Regions from separate parts of the Homo sapiens genome. Here all the other regions are linked to region 2. Evidence: promoter capture Hi-C in 16 types of primary human blood cells and fetal thymus (Javierre and others, 2016). All regions are on one chromosome and are shown on one strand. Each heading gives the region's core, a stretch centred on a gene start or on the middle of the fragment in contact. The rest is flanking DNA. Distances are from core to core; before and after follow the strand shown.

Region 1 (4,505 bases), core at 1,189-3,688, 1.4 Mb after region 2:
AGTGCACCTTCTTTTTCAACTTCAAAGTGGCACAAACACTGTGCTTTCCATCTTAGAAATCTGATTGTTCTGTCAGAATTTATATTTACAGGTTTCAAAGCAATAAATGGGGGAATAGGTAGTTTCCTGGTTTAGCCCCCATCTAGTCAGGAATTAATATACTGGAATACCTACCTTCTATTTGTTATTCAGATCAGATCTGGCCTATTTTCATATTTATCCTAAGCCATCAAATGGGGTAGTGCCTCTTAAACCATTAACAGTACTTTAGACATTGGCACTTTATTTTTCTCGTAGATCTTTAGCTACTTTGGGGAGGAGGGAAGGTGCTGATACCTTCAATTTGTTACTTTTCAAGATTTTTAAAAATAACTAGTGTAGCTTATCTTAAACATTTTATAAAACCTTCAGATGTCTTTAAGCAGATTGGAAGTATGCAAGTGCTTCCTTAGCAGGGACAGTGGATAATCCTTAATGGTTTATCATAGATTTCACCCTCCCCCCTTCTCAGAAGAGTGAGTATGCTCTTAAATGTCAAACACATTTTTGTTGTTTTGTTTTTTAAATGATCAGTGTCTATTTGATGTGATGCAGATCTTATAAATTTGGGAATTATAATATTGACATTTCTGTGATTTTTATATATGTAATGTCTTAATTGAGATTTCTGTTAAGGCAGAAATAATTAGGCTAGGGCTCTTAGTTTTCATTCCTATTGCCCAAGTATTGTCAAACTATGGTATTATTTTAATGTTACTTTAAAAATCCATAATCTGCTAGTTTTGCATGTACTTATATGAAAACAGTGCAGTAAGTTGAAAACTCAGTATCTATGGAATTGATAAATGTTGATCTGGTGTAGTATATTTTATCGCATTTTCTTATATTAAAAAATGTCTGCATGATTACATTTTATTTCCTTTGTAATTTACATTTCAGAATAGTGTATTGCTATATGGGTGCCAAGATTGAATATGAAGAACCCGAGTGTTTGTAGTATTATAGTTTTAAGCAAATCTGTGTGGTGATACAGCCATAAGAATGGGGCTTATATAAACTCTGTACATGTAAGATTTTGTACAGAGAATTTTTAACTTTATAAATTGTATATGAACATGTAAATCTTTTAAAATGTACATAAAATACTGTATTTTTTTACCTTGTGTGTGATAGTCTAGTCATTGCATGTAAATATAATTTATTATGTATTCTGTAGTATAAATCATACATTGATGACTTACATTTTTACTGGTAAGTCAACATCCGTTGGATGTTTTCTGAAGTGGCTCTTTTTGAAGTGATAATAGATTGTAATTCAAAATAAAATTATTAATGAATTCTCCTTGTTTGGGATCACATCTTAATTTTTAATCTGTTAAAAGTTCTTGATGTATTTTAATGAGAAGACTTTAGGTGAGGCTACAGTGATTCCAGAGTGAGCCTTCTAACTGGCTAGCAGAAGTTCTCTAGGTTTGGCATCTGTGCCTTGGAGATACTGAAAGAGAATCTGTCATTTGACAATTGACCTCTTTGTGGGATGGACTCATTAAGTATGCTCTCAGAGACTGGTATATTACCAGAATGCCTATTAATTTTCAGTGAGAGGCAACAGGTATTAAGTAGAACAGAATGCTCAGGTTGGCAGATTAGAACGATCTTTCAGGAGACAAAGCAAGTTTTAATCAGTTGTTTGGTTAATAAGTATGGGGTGTTCGCTGTGATAGGGCCCCGCCAGCTTCTGGCTCTTGTGGACCTCAAAAGTATCAGGTGGTTTTGCAAGTGGTGGTCCTTTCCCCTGCCCCACCCCAATAGGTTCCCCATCTGTCTAGTTTGATTTTTGTAGACCTTTGTTTTCTCTAGTTAGAAAATCAGGTACACTGAATATGGTTTTCATGTAACACCTCTTCTCTGGAGATAGGGGTATGTTTTCCTACCCTTCTAGTGGAGAATCCTACTTGAGGATGACCTTTCCTCTCTTACTAAATAATATTAGTAAATAGTGGGCAATATATTCTGCTTTCAGATTTTGATTTGTTGAGATGTAAAAGTTGTTTGGGGCTTACCAAATCTCAAGACTCTCTTTAGCTCCTGCAGGATTGTATTGCTTTTCTTACTGGATATTTTTCCTGGGTAAGCATCTTTGTGGCTTCATCTCTTCCCCCTGTGGTTTTCAGTGTATTTAGTCGAGACCTCTCTGCTGAGCTTGCAACCTGTTTATTCACATGGCCTGCCATGCCACTTGGAGGTTTCTGATTACTCCCAAACCTGCTGGTTCTTTATGTCTTTCTCAGCGAATAATTCCATCTATTCATGTTGGAAACTTAGGTGATATGCTCATCTCCTTTTGCCTGTTTATGGAGGTCACCAGCCTCTATCATTTGTATGATTTCGTTTACACTGTTTATATCTCTCTGTCCCCCCTTTTTCTGCCATTGGCATGGTTTAGACCTGTACTCTTTATCAGCAGAGGTACTGTAATATATTTGTGATCCCTCAGCTTCCAGGCTTACTCCTGGTCTCTGCCTTCCTATCTACATATCCTTTTAAAATAAAATTTTAACTATCTCCTGAAAAATTGTTGAGTAGGTCACGCACAATCAGGAGAAAAATCTATTCATGACATACAAGTCTCTGTCTAATCTGAACACTGCACCTGTCTCTGGCCTTTTTTTCTTGTCATTTCCTAGACCTTAAAAAATGTGTATTGAGAAAGAACTCTGTTAGCTATACAGAAGATGAACTGGGCAATATAGAGTAGCAGCATGGAGACCAGTCTGACTGAACTAAGGCAGTGGAAGTGTGGATGAGGAAGAGAGGTGAAAATTGAGAAGCGCTATCCTTTCTCTTTGGGCATTATTAGGAGGCTCACAGACAAGTCCAGGAGCCTGGTTATACCCTCCTGTGCCATTCAACCAGGTGGCTTTCCCATGACTGTGATGAATAAAATTGAGAAGCCCCTGCCCTTTTCAGAGCAGAGGGTGAGGAGAAAGCTACCATTTTGTCCTCATCCTTACCCCCGTTGACTTGGCGAGAGATTTGACCTTTCAGGTTTTGATCCTGTCATTTTCTAGGATGTGGTGCACGCACTTTGCTGTTGCGCATGGTGAAGTATTGTGCCTAGGTCCTGGGTCTTCATCTGTTTGGCTCTGCTACTGTTTCCTCCTCCCAGGAAGTGTGGTTAGACAAATAATGTGTTTTAATTACCTGTCACACTCAGGATTAATACATACTCAGGTTAACTGTAGAGAGGCATTGGCTTCAGAACACTCCTCGTGACAATTTTAACCATTTTCTTTGTCTAGAGTCTGCCTTTTTCTTTTTTACAATTTCTTTTATTTCAACACTAGGTTTCAATATGGTGTTCCTGCTACCTCCCACCTCCCTCCTCCCTCATCACACATGCAAATTGTCAGCTTATTGAGACAACCCACTTAGATTCATATATGGACAAGGACAAGGTATTTTGCATTTGTTACTGGAATTCAGTTTTCCTAACTATTTACTACCAGAAATGGTCAATAACTTACTTTGTGTTTAGCAAATCAAATTGTGTGATAGATAGTTTCCCAGTATGATGGCCAGTCAGTCTTTCCATCCCTGTGCCTACATGCTGCTCTTCCCGTCCACAAGTGGAGTCTGTTTCTCTTGAGTTTTGGCTGGCCTTATGAATGGCTTTGCTTACTGAAGTGCAGCAGAAGAAATTTAGTATATGTCCAAGCCTAGGCTTTAAGAGACTGGCAGCTTTCCTTTTATCCTTTTTGGAAGCTAGCCACCATGCTGCAAAGAAGCTCAGCTGGATTACTGAAAGATGAGAGGCCATGTGGAGAGAGACTCTTGAGGATGAGAGATTATCTTGGATGTTCCAGCCTTAAGCTCCCAGCTGAATGTGGGTGTATCCTCAGCTACACCACAGAAAACAGAGGAACTACTCAGTCGATCCCAATCAACCCACAGACTCACTAGAAATAACAAATTATTGTTTTAAGCCACGAGGTTTTGGGGGAGGGTTGTTAAACAGTAATAGATAAGTGAGACAGATTGCTTGTTATTTATGGTCAAATGGTGATTATCTCTGGTGAGATTACAGGTGATGTTTTTTTTAAGTTATGCCTATCTGTAGTTTCCTTTTTTTCCTAAAATTGATTTGAATTATTAGTGTATTAACAGAATAAAGAATGAACTTTAAAACACACACGCTGGTTATATGCTTCCTCTAATTAAAATTCATGGCTCTCACCACACCTTAGCATCAAGTTCCAACTTCGTACTGCGGCTTAGAAGACCCAGCTTGATTTGTTCCCGGCTCCCTTTTCAGCCTTGTTTCATGGCATCCACATCCACGTATTTCCCAGGCCCACTACATCTGAGATGAGTCAGAGACCCCTCTTAGGGGCCTGTTCCCTACTCCCAAACATGGAAATTAAAAAAAAAATCGTGAGTTCTTCCAAGAGAAATTCCAGGCATCTGGCTAGCCCTGAGAAGTAAGAGAGAAATGTGATAAGCAA
Region 2 (4,831 bases), core at 1,992-4,491:
TCTCCCAGGCTCCAGCGATCCTCCCACACCCTCCCAAGTAAGTGGGACTACTGGCTGGGAATACAGGCGCATGCCACCATGCTCAGCTAATATTTTATTTTTTGTAGAGACAGGGTTTTGCCACATTGCCCAGGCTGGTGTTGAACTCCTGAGCTTAAATGATCCTCCCACCTTGGCCTCCCAAAGTGCTGGGATTATAGCCATGAGCTACGTCTTTAAAAACCTATATACGATACTGAAGGGGCTTATAACCTACCAAAATAATAAATAAATAAAAACCTATATATGATAGATTTCAAATACAAATGATCATTTATATTTATCCTCCCAAGCAGGCATAGACAACATTCCACCTTACTACCACCCCAACTAAAAAACAATCTTATGCAATTATATTTCGTTGTTTTTGCGAGTTTTCCACTAGAAAGTTAAGTGGGCCACTGAAAAAAGCAATTTGAAAAAATGAATTTCAAACCAATGAATTTTGTTCGTTGATCTATTGTCAGGTTTGGTTTAGAAAAAGATCACTCTTAATTTTGATTATATGTATTTTAATGATTCATAGGACTCTTATCCTGAATGCTTAGATTTATGAAAGCCAGAAGTATTAACAGTGCAAGTCAGGCCGTCACAATTTGTTCAAGTTTTCTCTTCCTTTATTAACTCAGGTAGTTCCTGAGCATCTACCATATTAAAGGAATTATACTAGATGATTAAAGGATGCAAACAGGAATACAACACAGTCCCTGACTTTTCTCCCTCTACAAAATCAGTAGAAGTGGATTAATATGTAACTCTTCCTCTGAAATAAGGAGTCTATTTCATGGTTGTTCTGTAGTGACAATGCCTCGGGGATCCCACCTTCATCACCTTTGCACCCAACTGTCCATCACTCCTGTGCAGGGGATGCTGCTGGGGAAGAAAACAGGTCAAATGCAGGGAAAATTCATAGTAAGCTGTTACTACTACACTCACGAAAGTATAGTAACCTACTTTACTCACTGAAGTACAGTAACCTACTGTACCCACCAAAGTTTAAAACAAAACAGGACATTTGACAAGGCTGGTGCCTTTAAACAACTTTGCTAAAATGTCAAGGCACTCTTTTTAATTATTAAATAAGAGGAGTAATAGACATTTGTGGCCCACTCCGTCTATGAGCCTCATTCCTGATGATGGGGTAGAGTGAGTTTCAGGGACAAGGTGAAGTGAGGTTCAGGGAGGGGTGAGGCTTAGGGGCTTAAGTGAAGTTCTTTGCATGCATTTCTTAGTAACAAAAATGCTGAGTAATTTACTGGTTACTTTTTTTAGGCTGCAACAAAATGCTCCCATGGAAAATGTCTACGGTAAAATGTCAAGTGTATAGCTTTAAAGCAGAGGACAATGCTTAGCGCACAGTATTTTTGGCAGTATGACCCCACCATTCTCCAAGTTGCCCAGGCTTAAAATGTTGGCACTAGGAAACACATAGCTTATGATGTCTTCCCTACAATTTCACTTTACAGATTAAAAAAAGGGAACCTCCTCTTAGTATAATATTCATATATTCTTTCAATAATTTATTCATTTATCCATCAATATCACCTTTTATGAGACAGTGGTAAGCAACAGAGATATAAAATGAATAACATAGTCCTGCCCTTAACAGTTTGGTTTAGCAAGCATTTATTCAATGTACACCATATACAGTATCAATAACTGCAAAGTGCTAACATATAGATGTGTACCTACATTTTAGGGAAAGCTTTCAAGAATGATGTCAGAGTTGAGCCTTAAGGAATTAGCAGGAGTTTGCTTGATGAAGAGAAAGGAAGGGAAGGGCATATCCAGGTCTGAGAAAAATGCCCAGAGTATGTGGGGGAGGCAGGAGCTGAAAAAGTAGGCAGGAGCTAAATCATAACAGGCCTGTATGACAAACTAAGGAGTTTGCACTTTATTCTGGACAGAATGGGGAACAACTGGAGGATTTTAAGAGGAATGACATGAACAGATGTTTTGTTGTTGTTAGTCTCACCCAAGGATGGACTGGAGATTGGACTGGAAGGAAGCCAGGGCTGAATGCAGACAAACTAATTAGGAGGCTGTTGCTGTCATCTCAATGAGAAATGATGAGAAGAACATAATCTATGTCACAGGCACAGAGGATGGAGAGCAGAACACCTATTTGAGAAATATTCTATAAATAGAAATGATAGGACATGACTATTGATTGGACATGTGTGGGTGGAAAGCCAGAGTCTAAGATTCTTCCCAGCTTCCTCTGTCTAGCTTAGGCAATTATTTGGACAGTGGTACTACTGAGCACGGCACGCACACAGTAGAAGCAGCATATTGACTTTTTTTCTTTAAGGGAGGCAGGGAAAGATGACGAGTTCAATTTTAAATGCTGAATCTGAGACCTGTGGGGAATCCAAGGGGAGAGGTGCATGAGTCAGTTAGCTAACTAGACCTGTGCTTTTTAGCCTCAAGAAATTTACAAGACTATTCCAGAAGCATGTGTACTGACAACCTCACTGCCAAAGGAACAGGCATACCAATTAGAGAAAATGACAATTTTTCATGTTAAAAAAAAAAAAACTGAAAACACAGGGGTTGAGAGTTAATAACGAAACATTATGTTACTCGCCAAACTGACACAGCAGAACAATGTATTTCTCTAGTAAGCTAAATGTAGGGTTTGATGGGTTTCCTCCTGACGACACTTGAAAATAGAGGTGTACCTGGTGTTTAGATCTAGGAATTCCTTTCAGCAGGTTTGAAGAGCAAGAGCTGAGAAATGCGCCCTCCAGTGGCAGTGGAATGAGGGGTGTCTAGTAACCCTTTTTACCACCAAACAAAGCCCTGTAAAGAAATGCAATTTACCGGGATCAGAAAGCCACAATGCTGGTACCAGTAAACCGTCAAACCAAGCGAACCCTCTCAGGCGCCAGGAAGCCTTACCTGTCACGTTGGCCAAAGGAAAATTTCACTTTCGACTCAACAAAATAAGACCTCAGATTTGATAGCTTGCAGTAAGTCCCGCTTGGCGACGATTAAACACCCTGCAAGTCGAAACGCGTAGTCTAATCAAATCCTCTCCAGCCTGCAGGGCCGGGCTTCCACCACGTGGGTGGCTGCGGCCAGCAGGATCAATCCGCGAAGGGTGGGGGTAGGAGGCGTGCCCCTGCGGTGGGAGGCGGGGTCTGCGCAGTGGGTGGGGCTTCGGCGGAACCTAGCTAAGAGGTTCCTCTCGCCTCCGCTCCCCTTTTGCCTTCAACCTTCGAGCCGCCACGTAATGCCACGTCCCCGCGCATGCGCATCTTGGCCGCTGCTGGCGGCTGTTTCCGGGCTTAGAGGGCTGGAGTGGCCGCCGAGTTGGAGGCGGTGGTGGCAGCAGTAGGAGTGTGTAGAGTGCGGGATTGGGGCCCAGGCCCTGCGGAGGGCGGGGGAAGTTGTCTTCTTTTTTTTCCGGAGGGGCCGGTAAACCTGGTGGCTGAACGGCAAGATGAATTTCCTCCGCGGGGTAATGGGGGGTCAGAGTGCCGGACCCCAGCACACAGAAGCCGAGACGGTGAGAGGAGCAGCGGGTCTGGGACTTGGGAAGGGGTCCGGGCAGGGACGGGGACGGAGCACTCGGAGACCCGAAGGTCACCTCCAGCGTCCCACCATGGAGGGGGCATCCACATGCCGCCTCCCCCTTTGCCCTCCTTCCGCTCCTGAAATCCCAGAGTTATTCAATCACGCCCCCAGCTCAGTCCCCATTGCTGCCGTTCGGCCGGACTGACGGCGGCCGCGCCCCGCAGCTCTGTAGGCCCTGAAGCTCGGGCTAGGAGAGTGGTCCGCAGGTGGTACCGCACGGGAAGGGACGGATGCGCGGCCGAGCTGGCCCGAACTGCCTCCCACGCCCCTCGGGGCCGTGGGCCCCTCCCTCTTTCTCTTTCGCTCGTCTGCACTGGCCGAGAGGAGCCTGAAGTCCTGCTCCCTCCCTCGCAGTCTGAAACTGGGGCGTTGGGGAAAACTGCGAGAAGGTTTAAAACCCAGCTGTTGGTGAGAGCATTTGGCTAAGAATAAAACGATATTCTTTGAAGGACAAATCCACCTGCTCCTGTCCCATCAACTGGAAGAGCGGTCGTTCTGCCTGGTGTTATTTGTTCAGATCCGGCTTTTCGGGCTCACCCAAATATATATCATTTGGCAAATGCTACCTTGAACGTAGTAGGGATCTTAAGCGCTCAAACTGCTTTGGGGACACGTCCACCGCTTTCTGCCTGAACTCCTAATGACATGATTTGCGGCGTTATTTAAAAAAAAAAAAAAATGGTTAGCCGCTGAAAACATTATTTAATAGTTGCTTAGATTCTAGGTTTAGAATACACTTATTTTGAAGTTTGGTTAGTGTTTAATGGAATCGAGGGTGTATGCCTTTTTGAAATAAACTTTTTATTTGAGAAGAATTTTAGATCTACATAAAAGAGACTAAGTATAACACTTTAATGGCTAACTTTGTTAATGGGATCCTGAGGGATAATATAGTAGCTTTCATTTGTCAGGCTCTTACCTTGTGCTAGGTTCTGTGCTGAGCTCTTTATATTCCACATTATGCTTTAATCGTTAACTACCCTGCAAGATAGGTGAGAGTATTCTCACCTTAAAAGTCAAAAAATGAGACTGAGAGGGGTGAAGTAGGCCGGACGCGGTGGCTCACGCCTCTAATCCCAGCACTTTGGGAGGCTGAGGCCGGCGGATCACCTGAGGTCGGGAGTTCGAGACCAGCCTGACCAACATGGAGAAACCCCGTCTCTACTAAAAATACAGAATTAGCCGGCCGTGGTGGCACATGCCTGTAATCCCA
Region 3 (4,459 bases), core at 1-2,500, 1.4 Mb after region 2:
AAAACATAAACATTTTAGTTCAAACCCCTTCAGAGTCTGAATCCATCCTACCTCCCGAAACACCTTCCACTGTTTTGATACCCAATTGTCAACTTCTGCCAAAAGGATCTGTAACGGAGCCCCCTAGCTCCAGCGGAGGCTCCTCTGTCCTCCTTTCAAATTCCAGTTATTTAATCTAGCCTTTAGAGCACAACTCAAATCTCACCTCCCCCGGATTCCCCCCACCCACCCGCCCCAAGCCCTGGGTAACGTTGCCCTCCCCCGAATTTCACAGCACCGGAGGTTCACCCCATTCATTTGGCATTCAGTCTGCCGTGCAAAGTTAGTAATCCTCCTGGTGTCCCCGGAGAATCGTTCAACCTGAGGGTGGGGGTGTGTCCCCTTCTTTGTGTATTAACACGGGCTCGTAGAGCCTCCAACACGCACTATAGAGTAGCTAATTTGCCGCTGCCACAAAAAAAAGTTACTCGCTGACAGAAAAACTGGCCCGAAAAGGAACACAGTAGTGCCGTTTTCAAGTGGGCAGGTGACGGGTCTGTCTGGGCCGGAGAGGACGAAGAGGGCGGCCCCGAGGTTCCCCGGGCTGGGGGATGCGGGAGGGTGGGTCTCCGGCGAGCAGCGCGCGGCCAAGGGCGCTGCCACGGGGGCGGCGCGGGGGGAGCAGCGGGGCCCCAGCGCGTCGACGCCGGCCGCGGAGACGCGTCGAGCCCCCGCCCCCGCCCCCGCCCCTCACCTTCTCCTCCTCTTCCTCCTCCTCCTCCTCCCCGGCAGAGCTGTAGGCCTCACAGTGGTGACGCGGGGTCATCCGGGGGCCCGTTACCACCTCATTCTCATAGGCGCGCGGAGGCGGTGCGCGCGGGACGACTCGGCCAACTGAGGAGGGAGAAAGGGGAAGCGGATCGGGGGGCGCGGGCGCGGGCGCTGGCGCTCGAGCGGGACGCACGGCTGCGGCCGCTGGGTCGGTCAGCGAATTAGTTCCATGATGACCCCCGGCCTGAGGCCGCCGCCGCTCGAGCCCGGGTTGGGAGGGGGCTCCCTCTCGCCATAGGGCGGCGGGGGCCGGGGAGAGGCGGGGGGTGAGACCGGCTCTGCCCCTGCCCGGGGAAAGCGCCTCCGAGGGGAAATGGTGAAAGGGGGGGAGGGGAGAAAAGAAAAGAAAAAAAAAAAAAGAAAGGGGAAAGGGGGGAAAAATAAGAAAAAGCGAGACAGAGGCGCTGCCGCGTCCGCTCGCGGGGAAGGCTGGGGAGGGAGGGGAAGAGAGGGGAAGGGAGGAAGAAGTGCCGGCTTCCTCGGCTCCGCCCTCGCGGACCGATTCCTAGACTCGCCCACTCCTTGTAAACTACGCGGACTTGGTCTTTCACCCTTCCTGTTCCTCCCCGCCGCCTTCCCGGTCCAACGAAAGTACAGAGAAGTGCGGCCGAAAGGAGACGGGCTGGGGAAGTCGTTGGCACTAGGATGGAAGGAGGGAGGACGTTTTCTCGTGGCTAAGAAAAGCCGAAGGTCCGTGGACTCATTTTCCTTGAAGGAGCGGAAGGGTTGCTTGCAGACCGCACGGTGACGTCAGCGTCTCTGGGCCCCCACTGAGGGGGCGTGCGGTGGCCGGAGAGTGCGCTGCGCATGCGCCTGGGGAAGAAAGAAGCGGCCGAGCGCTGCGCTTGGGGGAGGGGATTTCACGATCCGCTCCTGTGGTCCAGCTTTACAGCAGCTTGGTTTTATCTAGCCCTACTCGTCCCCAGGCTCTTAGAAGGATTCACTGGGAAGGGGCTACTGATCTCTTGGGTGGAGATCTTGCAGATTTGTTGACCTAGCAAAGTATTACGTGTTCTTACCGTTGACATGTAAATAGAATTGCGGTTTTTCTCACTGCCACATTGTGTGGGTGGAGGGAGATTCTAAAGGGTTTTAGGAATCGGAAAATTAGGGAGAATCAAATCATGGGTGCTTAAGGCCTCAGTGAAACACTGTAAATTATACTGCTGACGGCGAGGAACCTGCTTGGCAATGTGGCAAGGGGATTTTATCCACTCAACCAACACGTCTGAGTATTTCCGAATAGGTTTTATTACCAGGTGCTTAAAGAATGTGTGGTGACATAAATGGGTTTTATTTGGGGTTCTGTTAGTACAAACGGTAACTTTTTGCTATTTTGATTGTTTTAATTATTTAAAAATATGTAGTATTACAGAGTTTTGAAAGAGGAAGAGCTAGATCTCAACCATTTATAGAAGTCTCGTTTGTTTTTTCCATTTGTTTTTTATATAGTTATTTTAACTGTCAGTGAAAAAATATGTGTTGAGTTTATTTAGTGGCCAGACTCAGCAAACTGGAAGTAGCCAAGACAGACATAGCTCCTGCCTTCATGGAGTTTACAGTCCAAACAGAGGATAACCATTGAGCTAATTATCACTATGTAAAATTACCAAGTACATTTACTTGTTTACTTGTGCATGTATCCCCTCCCTAGAATATAAGGTCGCAGGCGGCAGGGATCTTGCATGTTTCACCCTCTATCCCTGTGTATAAAAGGCTCTCAATATTTGACCAAGTAAACAATTCTGGTATTAAAACCGTTAAGATGGAAAATCGCCGGCTGCTGTGGAAACGCTTGCCTTTCCGCCTGGTTTGGGATATCAGAGAAGGTTTTTCTGAAGAAGTGACATTTAAGATGAGACTTGAAACCACTGGGCAAAGAATGATACAAGCAGAGGAAGTTATGTGAAAAGGCTCCGAAGCTGAGACGTTCTAAAAATCTCTGAAAGCTAGTGTGGCTGGCCCTCAGACAACTGAGGCAGGATGTGGAAGCAGAGGACAGATGCCATAGAACAGAAGAAGGAATGGGAAGCCCTAGGAGGATTTCAAGTGGGTTGTATCCTTTTTTTTTCTTTTTTTCACTTCATGTAGCCTATTATTATATGGTCTTCATTCAAAAAAGCCACCATTTTTCTGCATGTTACTCTTGAGACTGTAGCATTTCTGCATAATACTATTGAGAGTGTAACATAATTCCATTGTTAGACCATGAAATTGCTTCTGATTTTCACTCCAATAAGAATAATGCAAATTCCACTCCTAAATATATACCCAAGAGAAAGGAAAATATTTGTCCATGCAAAAACTTTTTTACAAACGTTAGCATTATTCATAATAGCCAAAGATGAAACAACCTAAATGTTCATCAGCTGGCGCCTGTATAAATCAAATGTGATACATCTATGTACAATCAAATTTTTATTTTTAAGAGATGGGGTCTGGCTCCGTGGCGCAGATGGGGGTGCCATGAGACTTCCTATGTTGTCCAGGCTGGTCTCAAACTCCTGGCCTCTAGCAATTCTCCCTCCTTAGCCTGAAAGTGATGGGATTACAGGCATGAGCCGTCACACCGACCTATACAATGGAATCTTATTGGGCCATAAAAAGAAAATACTAATACATGCTATAACATGCATAACCTTTGAAAGCAGTATGCTAAATGAAAGAAGCCAGTCACAAAAGACCACATATTATATGATTCCACTTACGTGAATGTCCAGAATAGGCAAATATATAGAGACAGAAAGTAAGGAAGTGGTTGCTTAGGGCTAGGGGCAGGCATGGGATTAGGGGATGATAGTTAAATGATATGGGGGTTTCTTTCTTTTTTTCTTTTCTTTTTTTCTTTTTTTTTTTTTTGGAAACAGGGCCTTGCTCTGTCCCCCAGGCTGCAGGCTGGAGTGCAATGGTGTGAACATGACTCACTGTAGCCTTGACCTCCAGGATCAAGCAATCCTCCTGCCTCAGCCTCCTGTGTAGCTGGAACCACAGGCGCATGCCTCCATGCCCAACTGATTTTTTGAAGGTTTCTTTTTGAGGTGAGAAAAATGTTCTGAGATTGATTGTGTTGATGGTTGCGCAACTGTGAATATTTAGGTTGAGTATTATCCAAAATATTTGAGACCAGAAGTATTTTGAATTTTAAACTTTTTTTTCAGTTTTGGAAATGTTTGCATTAAATTATATACTTACTGGTTGAGCAACCTAGTCTGAAAATCCAAAATGAGCATTTCCTCTGAGTGTCATGTTGGCACTCAAAAAGCTTTGGATTTTGGAGCATTTCAGATTTTTGTATCAGGGATATGCAACCTGTACTAAAAACCATTGAATTGTACACTTTAAATGTATTACTTCTATGGTGTTTGAATTATAATAAAGCTGCTACCCAAAAAATGAAAAACAAAAATAATTCAATTAACATCTTCATAACCTCTTTGGGGCTATTCCTAGGTCCAACAATATTATGTTTTTATGGCTTTTACTGAATACCAGTTGCCAGTTGCAAGGCAGAAGATTAAACCAATTAAAATGTTACCAGGAGTCTTTAAGAGCTCCCATTTAATTATATACTTATCCTTATTAAAACTATCTTACTGCCTATGAGATTGCCAGTGACAATTTAATCTACTATAAATATAATTACAAGTAA

What was found. Contacts are between HindIII fragments. The CHiCAGO score rates a contact against its expected background, and 5 or more counts as called.
Region 1: a fragment that was not itself captured here is called in contact with the fragment with the promoter of USO1 in region 2 in 1 of 17 cell types (neutrophils); the score reaches 5.0 in neutrophils.
Region 3: the fragment with the promoter of CCNI here is called in contact with the fragment with the promoter of USO1 in region 2 in 1 of 17 cell types (neutrophils); the score reaches 6.7 in neutrophils.

The regions. Positions count from the first base shown.
Region 1 is chr4:77,165,869-77,170,373 of GRCh38, forward strand. It overlaps CCNG2 (cyclin G2), which reads left to right. Exons shown (of 8, transcript NM_004354.3): 8 at 1-4,192. The coding sequence ends at 56. Among named protein-coding and RNA genes, the nearest start is that of CCNG2, 11 kb to the left of the region's middle. The HindIII fragment of the contact is 8,657 bases long and covers 1-4,505 here.
Region 2 is chr4:75,721,336-75,726,166 of GRCh38, forward strand. It overlaps USO1 (USO1 vesicle transport factor), which reads left to right and starts at 3,242. Exons shown (of 24, transcript NM_003715.4): 1 at 3,242-3,550. The coding sequence starts at 3,485. It also overlaps a transcript of G3BP2 not described here. RefSeq lists enhancers at 2,432-3,352, 3,353-4,272, 3,369-3,448 and silencers at 3,029-3,198, 3,533-3,710. The HindIII fragment of the contact is 5,085 bases long and covers 1,743-4,831 here.
Region 3 is chr4:77,074,739-77,079,197 of GRCh38, forward strand. It overlaps CCNI (cyclin I), which reads right to left and starts at 1,251. Exons shown (of 7, transcript NM_006835.3): 1 at 734-1,251. RefSeq lists silencers at 579-728, 789-1,138 and enhancers at 1,319-1,548, 1,447-2,417. The HindIII fragment of the contact is 6,616 bases long and covers 1-4,070 here.